Regions from separate parts of the Homo sapiens genome. Here regions 2 and 3 are each linked to region 1. The links are contacts of gene promoters, found by promoter capture Hi-C in blood cells and fetal thymus (Javierre and others, 2016). All regions are on one chromosome and are shown on one strand. The core of a region is centred on a gene start or on the middle of the fragment in contact, and the rest is flanking DNA. Distances in the headings are between cores, read along the strand shown. Region 1 holds the start of DMXL2 (Dmx like 2). Region 2 overlaps TMOD2 (tropomodulin 2). Region 3 overlaps TMOD3 (tropomodulin 3).

The links. Contacts are between HindIII fragments. The CHiCAGO score rates a contact against its expected background, and 5 or more counts as called.
Region 2: a contact is called between a fragment that was not itself captured here and the fragment with the promoter of DMXL2 in region 1, in 1 of 17 cell types (neutrophils). The highest score is 5.5, in neutrophils.
Region 3: a contact is called between a fragment that was not itself captured here and the fragment with the promoter of DMXL2 in region 1, in 1 of 17 cell types (M1 macrophages). The highest score is 5.9, in M1 macrophages.

Annotation. Positions count from the first base shown.
Region 1 is chr15:51,621,467-51,624,166 of GRCh38, reverse strand. It overlaps DMXL2 (Dmx like 2), which reads left to right and starts at 1,396. Exons shown (of 44, transcript NM_001378457.1): 1 at 1,396-1,708. The coding sequence starts at 1,622. RefSeq lists a silencer at 1,259-1,478 and an enhancer at 1,849-2,258. The HindIII fragment of the contact is 5,213 bases long and covers 1-2,700 here.
Region 2 is chr15:51,812,466-51,815,165 of GRCh38, reverse strand. It overlaps TMOD2 (tropomodulin 2), which reads right to left. Exons shown (of 10, transcript NM_014548.4): 10 at 1-2,700. Among named protein-coding and RNA genes, the nearest start is that of TMOD3, 16 kb to the left of the region's middle. The HindIII fragment of the contact is 2,004 bases long and covers 399-2,402 here.
Region 3 is chr15:51,840,961-51,843,660 of GRCh38, reverse strand. All of the region lies in intron 1 of TMOD3 (tropomodulin 3), which reads right to left. Among named protein-coding and RNA genes, the nearest start is that of TMOD3, 13 kb to the right of the region's middle. The HindIII fragment of the contact is 1,317 bases long and covers 777-2,093 here.

The sequences.
Region 1 (2,700 bases), core at 147-2,646:
GATCTTTGCCTCCAATCTTCCCCACCCTTCCCTTTATGCTTCAAAATGCTACAAAGTCATCTTCCCAAAGCAGCTCTGATTATATAAATTTTTGCTCAGAAACATCTGATATACCCCCACTGCATGCAGAGTGAAATCTGGGCTTCTTGGAGCATTCAAGACTCTCCATAATATGTTTTGGTAGGCCAAGAGTTAGACCACTTGGATACCTTGATCTCTTGCTAAGTATTATTTACTTTCCCTACCCTATAAATCATCTGCCTCAAACATTAATCTTTGTACCTTCAACACCCCCTCTATTTTCTGTACTGTATTTGCAGCATTTCTTGTCTATCTCAGCCTGTCAAAATTAAACTCAGCGTTTATGTCAGGTTATGTCTCCATAATGCCTTATCCACGCCCTTAGTCAACATTCTTCTTCCTCTTCTGTGGTGCATAAAGACTTTTATATCTCAATCACACCACCTTTGGCGTTCTGCCTGGTTTTACAGATAGTTATGTCTTGGTGTCCCCTACTTCCTTACCCTGTGATTTAAGCATAGTATGGGTTAGAACATTTGCCATGAATTGGCCTGTGGCAGGGAGCTGATGATCCTTGTTATCAACCATTCAAAGTTTAGCAGATAGTTTGGAAAATCAGGCGATTCTGCTAATTCATGAAATTACTCATGAAAAAAAGTCGAAAGGAGTCACCCGTCTCTAAGGCGGCTTTTTGCTGTCTAGAATAACCGTGACAAAAGGTGGGAGCAAAATAATTAGCTTTCAGGGGAGTATGGCTTCTCTAAATAGTTGCAAGATGCCTACATTGTTTATGTAAAATAAAATATCTTATGTACTGCACTTTCGAAAAGACTGAAGATATCTAAGATATCTCCAGGTGGAAATTCCCGGTGACGGGTGTCCTTCTGAGGTCAACGGCACTGACCATTGCACACTGTATTCTGGAATACGTTCAACACAGCAAAACCGGCTCGTGGCGCGTCCCCGGCGTCCGACTGCTGCGTGGCCCCGAGCGACCTGCACCCCACTCGCCCCCGCCCCCACCTCCGCCCCAGTCCGCAGCGGCTACAGCCCGGGAGGCTCCAAGGGAACTCCCGCACGTCTGCGCGCGCAATCACGGGACGGCGGGTCGGCGTGGCGCGCGCAATTGCCCTGGAAACCACGGCGCGCGCACGCGCAAACGCGGGTGATGGGGGGAAGAAAGACTGAGCTGAGAGCTTTGCCGCGGGGGGAGGGCTCTACCTCGCTCCCCCGCGGTGGGCGCGCGCGCTGGCCCGCTCCCTTGCTGCACGCTCCCGGCTCGCGCGTTCCCCCCGGTGCCCTCCCCCGCCTCACAAGCACCCTTGCCCTCCCGCATTTGTGCGCCGGTGCAGCAGGCAGTGGGAACATCCGGGCATTTCCGCAGCTGAGCGGCGACCCGGGCGGCGGCGGCGGTCGAGGAGCTCCCATGGCAGGGACGAGGCGGAGGGAAGGCGAAAGGGGGGCGAGGAGTTAAGCCAGAGCCTCCGCGGGGCGGGTTTCCGAGGGAGGCACAGAGGGAAACGGCTCTCGCAGCCCGAGGAGGGTCAGGCGCGGAGCTTGTCGCACCTCCCGCGCATTCTGTCCAGCCCGGGCTCCGGAGATGCATCTGCATCAGGTCCTCACCGGAGCTGTCAACCCTGGAGACAACTGCTACTCCGTGGGCAGCGTCGGGGATGTCCCCTTCACGGTGAGCGGCGGCCGGGAGCCCTAGGGGAAGATACCAGGGGCCAGACGCGGGGGCAGGGACCTCCTGTCCAGGGCGCACGCCTCCTCAGGAGGCTGTGAGATGTTGGTGGGCCCCACCCGTGGCCCCTTTGCAGCCTTGGGGTTTAGTTCCCCCTGGGACCCGTGGGACCGTGGGTCCTGCGTCTGGTGTAGGAAATCACCCGTTAGGGGAAAGGCTTAGGAATCCACCGCACTCTCCACCCCAAGCAAACGGGCCTGAGGTGACTGGACTAGAAGGCTCCTCCTAGGGCGGCCCTTCGGTCTGCGGTGGAGGAAAGTGGTGGTGCGGCTGAAACCCCAGAGCGTCCGTTTCGCAGCTGCTCTCGGCGTGGAGGCGAAGAGACTTGGTGTTGGTCTCGGAGCGTGGAGGTGAAGAGACTTGGTGTTGGTCTCGGAGCGTGGAGGCGATGCTGCGCCTTGGCTCCCCCTGCCCGCTGTGCTAGGGCAGCGAGGAGCTGCTGGAGTCTGTGGCTTTAAGCCTGACTCTGTATCTCCTGATAATGCAGGATCTTAATTCCAACAAAAAGATAGAAAAATTCATCCTCCGCGCCCGAAAGATTTAGAATGGAAAGGTTAGAGTCACAGTGGCTTGGAGAGCTGTCTCATTTATCAGGAGGTCGTAGTTTGGTAATCCTCCTAGATAATATTTTAATCTGTAAGGTAGCCTTTTTTTTAATATAGTAAGGCAATGTGAAAAATTTACAACAGTGCTTGTTTGAGAAAAGTGTATGTATACATAACGTTTTAGAATCTCCTTAAAAGCTAGATGAAGTAGACATGTTTCTCAAGGAGATTGGACTCATCAGTCCTTTTTGAGAGTGGAAATGTTTAAACCAAGCCTTGGAGCTTCGTTTACTCATAGATAGACTCCCATAAATTGAGTTCTTTTTTAAAGAATGAAATTTATACATGGTCTTCCTTATAAGGAACTGTAGGCAGCCAGACCTTTATTAA
Region 2 (2,700 bases), core at 151-2,650, 190 kb before region 1:
CTCAGCCTCCCCAGTAGCTGGGATAACAGGCTCTTGCCACAGGGCCCAGCTAATTTCTGTATTTTTAGTAGAGACGGGGTTTCACCATGTTGGCCAGGCTGGTCTTGAACTCCTGACCTCAGGTGATCCACCCACCTTCACCTCCCAAAGTGCTGGGATTACAGGCATGAGCCACTGGGCCCAGCCTAAATAGTATATATTTTTAAATATCCTTTCAGAAAAGGCCGCTTATCCAGAACCATTCTGAAGACAGTAAAGAACTGCTGAAGAGGAAGAAAAAACTGGCTGTGCAATAGTCAGACCTCCTCTGAACAAAGCCTCCTGGAGAGAAACAGCTGCAGTGGAGGCATTACTCACCCATGTTCAGAGGCAACGGAAACGATTTAGAATCACAAGCTTGTCAAGTATTGGAGCTGGAAGGGACCTTAGGGAGCATTGAATCTACTCACTTCATTTTACAGATGAAATGAAGACAAGATAGATGGAGAGTCTTGCCCAAAGTCACATAGAGCTGGCATCCAAATCACTATTGTTTCTCAAAAATATCACATGGTGGCAAATGGAGCATAACTCTGTGGGGCTGGACGACAGCTAAATTCAAGCAACATTTGTTCATTAAGCACCTACTATGTACAAGGCACCTTACAAGATGGTACTGAAGATACAAAGATGGATGAGACACAGTCCTGCCTCCAAGGGCTTATGAAAGTCATTGGAGGCCATGCTTCAAAACCTTTCTTAGCAGAAATATTACTGACCAGGGCTAAGGTTGCTGGTGATAACAAGGCAGCTGCTGCCCTGGAGAGGTGATCTCACAACAGGTGGCACTTTCTCCCCTTCACTATCTATCAGAACTAATGCCTGTTACTCAGCTGCTAGGCATTAAAATTCTTGAAACCCTAAGGACACTCTTCTCTCCTAGGCCTCCAGTCAAACCTGAAGTCTTAGCCTCTCCCACCCACAGCAATGACAGGAGGGCAGTAGCGCTCCAGACCCTCCCCTCAATTCTTAGTCAACTGTTCGCTTTCTCCCTTGTGCCCAGCCTAGGCCCTCTGCAAGGACTGACAATTTCCCAAGGTACTGTCAAAGTGACCCAGGAAAATGTCCTACCATATACATCGCTGGTATCTAACTTCCACTGCCCCATCAACCACCTCTCCCACCTCTACATGGGAGCTGAAATAACTCCAGTCCCTGATGACACACCCAAGCCTCAATTACCCATACTCCAAAAGATGAGAAAGATGTAATGGTTGGTTAGAATAAAGCCGATTCAAGAGGCAGTGGAAAACAGTGATTTGATAATAAAACTGATCTCTCACATTTGTACGGCGCTTTCCAGTTTATATAGTGTTTTTATCCAGTTATCTGATTATATTCTTACCACAACTCTGTGAGGTAGTTAGTGAAGTATTATTCCCATTTTATAGCTGAAGAACCTTAGGCTTGAGAGACCAAGCGGTTTGCCCAAAGTTACCCAGCTAAGGAAGTGTGGAGCCAAGTGTCCAGGTTTCTTGACTCCAAATCCAGTGCTCTTCCCCCTATATAGTCTATAATTGGCAGGCAATTGAATGAATTGCCCATGATCATATACCTGCTAAGTGTTGGTGATGGGATTAGGTTTCAGTCTCCAAATCTGTTAGTACGGTGCCCCTTCACCATACCAACTAACTGGGCCAATGTGCTCAGAATGTCTACCATGGAAGAGATCAGAAGAACATCTAGTTAGTTAACTACTCTTTTCTATGTCTAGGTCATCAGTTCTCTCCTTCATCCTCCCCCAAGTCAACAATGTATCCCAACTGGCAAAGCCTCTAAAACATGCACTATTCCTAGAACAGAACCCAGAGTCAGGTTACAAATTTAAACTTGCAACTCCTCTTCCATTGGTCTACTGATTATTCAGTCATTGCTATTACAGACAGATGGGAAAGAGATAAGCTGAGCAAATCTCAGTTCTGCCATTAAACAAATGTAAACCTTTAATTTCCATCATCCTTCCCCACCTCGGTCAGCAATTTGACTTCTTAACTCCTGAACTACAAAGTAAAATCCAATCTGATCTAGGGTTAGGGAGCAATAAAGCAGTGAATAATATCCCTGAAGTTCTTGGCGCTTTTCTCTGGCTAGTATATTACAACAGGAGGCCCTATCGTCTGATTTTCATCCAGTGGGCTCAGCTGGATGCTTCCAAGCACTCTCACACCTTTCCTTTGTGTGCATCTCAGTACTTTAGCTTTAGGATTGGTTGAGTAGCAGGGATATTTGAGATGAAAGCAATAAGAGGAGGTAAAGGGAAGCTGCAAGTGGAAGGCAGAGCTAGGACCTTTCCTCTTAGTTCTCTGCTCGTTAAAATGAAAACAGCTATTATTGCATCATTAGTGGAAGAGGGGAAGGAAGCTTCAGGATCATGACTTAAAACCTGACTCCAGAAACACTTCTACTGAATACAGGTAACATAGCACAGAACCTAGTGTTCTCAACTTCCCGCCCTCTGCCCATTTTTGCTGATGCTATAAATACTTGAATTAAATATGGGATCTTCTTTGTAAAAAAGGCACTCAGTCTACTCCCCAATCTCAGAAACACATATAAAATTATATTAGTCCAGAATTTTTATGCTTCCTCTGTCTTCTTCGTAGTGCCTAGGAGGGGGCTGAGTACATCATATCTGTGAAGAAGGAAATAGCTGCACATGTG
Region 3 (2,700 bases), core at 186-2,685, 220 kb before region 1:
GCCCCTTCCCAGGAAAGGTTCTAAGACCTAGAGAAACTTCTGGAACCTCATAAAAAGAGGAAGTAAAAAATACTGCTTTACTAAGCCCTCTGTCAGACCAGGCTCTAGACAAGCAAACTGACTCTAAGCTCCTGTTTTCCTGCTCTAACATCTGTATCTTGCCTACAGTCACCTAAAACACTGCTTTTAACATTTTACTCCTTTACTTAGAAATGTTTCTTGTTAGGTGTTTGTAGTTTGACAGTTTCTCGGGTGATTTTGATAAAACTCCCCTTCCTACTTGCTCTAAGAATCACTAGGAATCCTCTGCTTTAATCAGGCTAGATTCCTCAGGGCCTCACAGATATCCAAAGTTCATCTTCAGCTGGCCGCCTCATTTGTTTCCCACAATGATGTCACTCTTCTTAAACAATCCTTTTTACCCCAGGCCCGAATTTCACCTCTCTATCTTATCCACACGCTGCACAATTCAAAGACTAGCTGAAGTCTGTCCTCTCCAAAGCCTTTCTAGCTCTTCCAACTCTGACTACTCTTTTTCCTCCTCTCAAGATCAGCAGTGCTCCAGGTATGGCATACCATCTAGCCCCATTGCTCACCACTGAGTCATGAGTACGGTGCCCCAGCTGGTAAGAATGAATGCTCCTCAATGGACCATGCCTCACTCTTACATGGTGAAGGCATTTATATGCACCTTCAGAGACACAGCACACTTCTGACTTAGAGATACCACTGGTATTACTCTAATCAACGTCAGGGGCCTGGAGATACATCAAGCTTTATTATCATGATTAATTTTCAGATTGAAAGGGAGTAGTAGTTACAATAGGTTTTTCAAGAGGCACAAGGCCTAAAATTTGCATAATGTATTTTGTACTTCATGAGGGAGGTGGGGAATGTAATACCACTCAAAAAGAGATTTGGTAACTCCTGGAGTTAGGGTATAATTCTCATGAGGTGGGATAAAAGCACGAACTCAGTCAATAGTAGGGCAAAAGAGAGTCAATTCTTCAAGAAAATGACACTGCCCCACTACCTTGACCTTAGGCCCTAAATGTAGAAAACCTCATGCCTAATGAAGTACTATGATATTCAGAATGAATAGCTGAAAAATAACCAACAGACAGGGCACTTGTAAGTAACCACACAGCAGCCACAATCAACATCCACACAACCCACCATAAGCAATTTTTGGAACACAAAGAGAAAGGGCAAGATGACTTACACACCACAGACAGCACTGAAGAGGGCTTGCTAGGAAAAGTAATTTGGTATCATCAAGCTGTATACGTAAAGTTGACGGTATATAAATTATGCCTTGATAAAATTGTTTTTTAAAAAAGTAATCTGGTGACATGAGCTAGGGTATTCGCCTATGGAGAAGCAGCATGCAGTCCAGTAAAGTAAGGGGAGAGGGGTATTCACTAGGTTTTAATTGGCAGTTTCAAGATAGCAGGCACAAAACCTCTGGCACAGAAGCAGAAATGCCTCATGATGTTAAGACAGGAGAGTTCACTATAAATGATAAGAACTACCACAATATAGCCTTTGAAAAATACACACAAACATATAATAAAAAGTCAAACCAGGCCAGGCACAGTGGCTCACGCCTGTAATCCCAGCACTTTGGGAGGCCAAGGTGGGTGGATCACTTGAGGTCAGGAGTTTGAGACCAGCCTGGCCAACATGGTGAAACCCCATCTCTACTACAAGTACATAAAAAAAAATTAGCCAGGCGTGGTGGCCCATGCCTGTAATCCCAGCAACTCAGGAAGCTGGGGTAGGAGAATCGCTTGAACACAGGAAGCGGAGGTTGCAGTGAGCCAAGATCGTGCCACCGCACTCCAGCCTGTGTGACAGAATGAGACTCCATCTCAAAATAATAATTAAAAAAACTCCAAACCATAAAAAACTACTGAAATAATGAGAACCATACAGCTAGTGGCAATTGGGGATAGTTTCAGAGAAAGAAGAAATGGGAGTGGGTGGAGGCAGAAAGAAAAACAAATTAATACTTAAGACTGGTGATAACTGAAGAAAGCAGAACTGATGAAAGAAGGGAAGTCTTAGAAATCATTGCTATTGGCCAAGAAGCTTGGTTCACAGTCTCCAGGACATAAGGTCTGCTTTGGGATAGGTTCTTTAGAAGGGGGCTAAAGGACATTTTTCCTTTAATATCAAATGAGGGAAATCAAGGGAGCCACATACAAGTAAAAGAAAATAATGCAGGAAAAGAGAGGAGGTTGCTGAGAGCTTAGAAGGACCCAAAACAGGAGTTCAGGATAATATATCTGAAATTAACACTTATGACAACAACTATCAATTATTACCTTTAGTGATAGAATAAAACTGGTTATATCTTAATTACATCATAGGAAAACATTTCTTTCATTTTTTACTTTAGTCTCTCAGAATAAAGGGATCATGTCCCATATCATATTATAATGAAGTGAAAAAGAAAGGAATCAATTTTTGTTTGTATACCTGTTATATGCCAGGCACTTTATCATACACATCTCCTCATAATAACCTTGCAAAATAGTTCTATCTCCAATTTACAGATGAAGAAACTGAAGCTCAGAAAGGCTAAGAGCCTGCTCAAGGATATGTACTTTTCAGTAGTGGATGTGAGATTTGAACCTGACCCTAAAAGCCATACGTTTTACACAATATCACACTTCCTCTAAAAAATACTCAATTTTT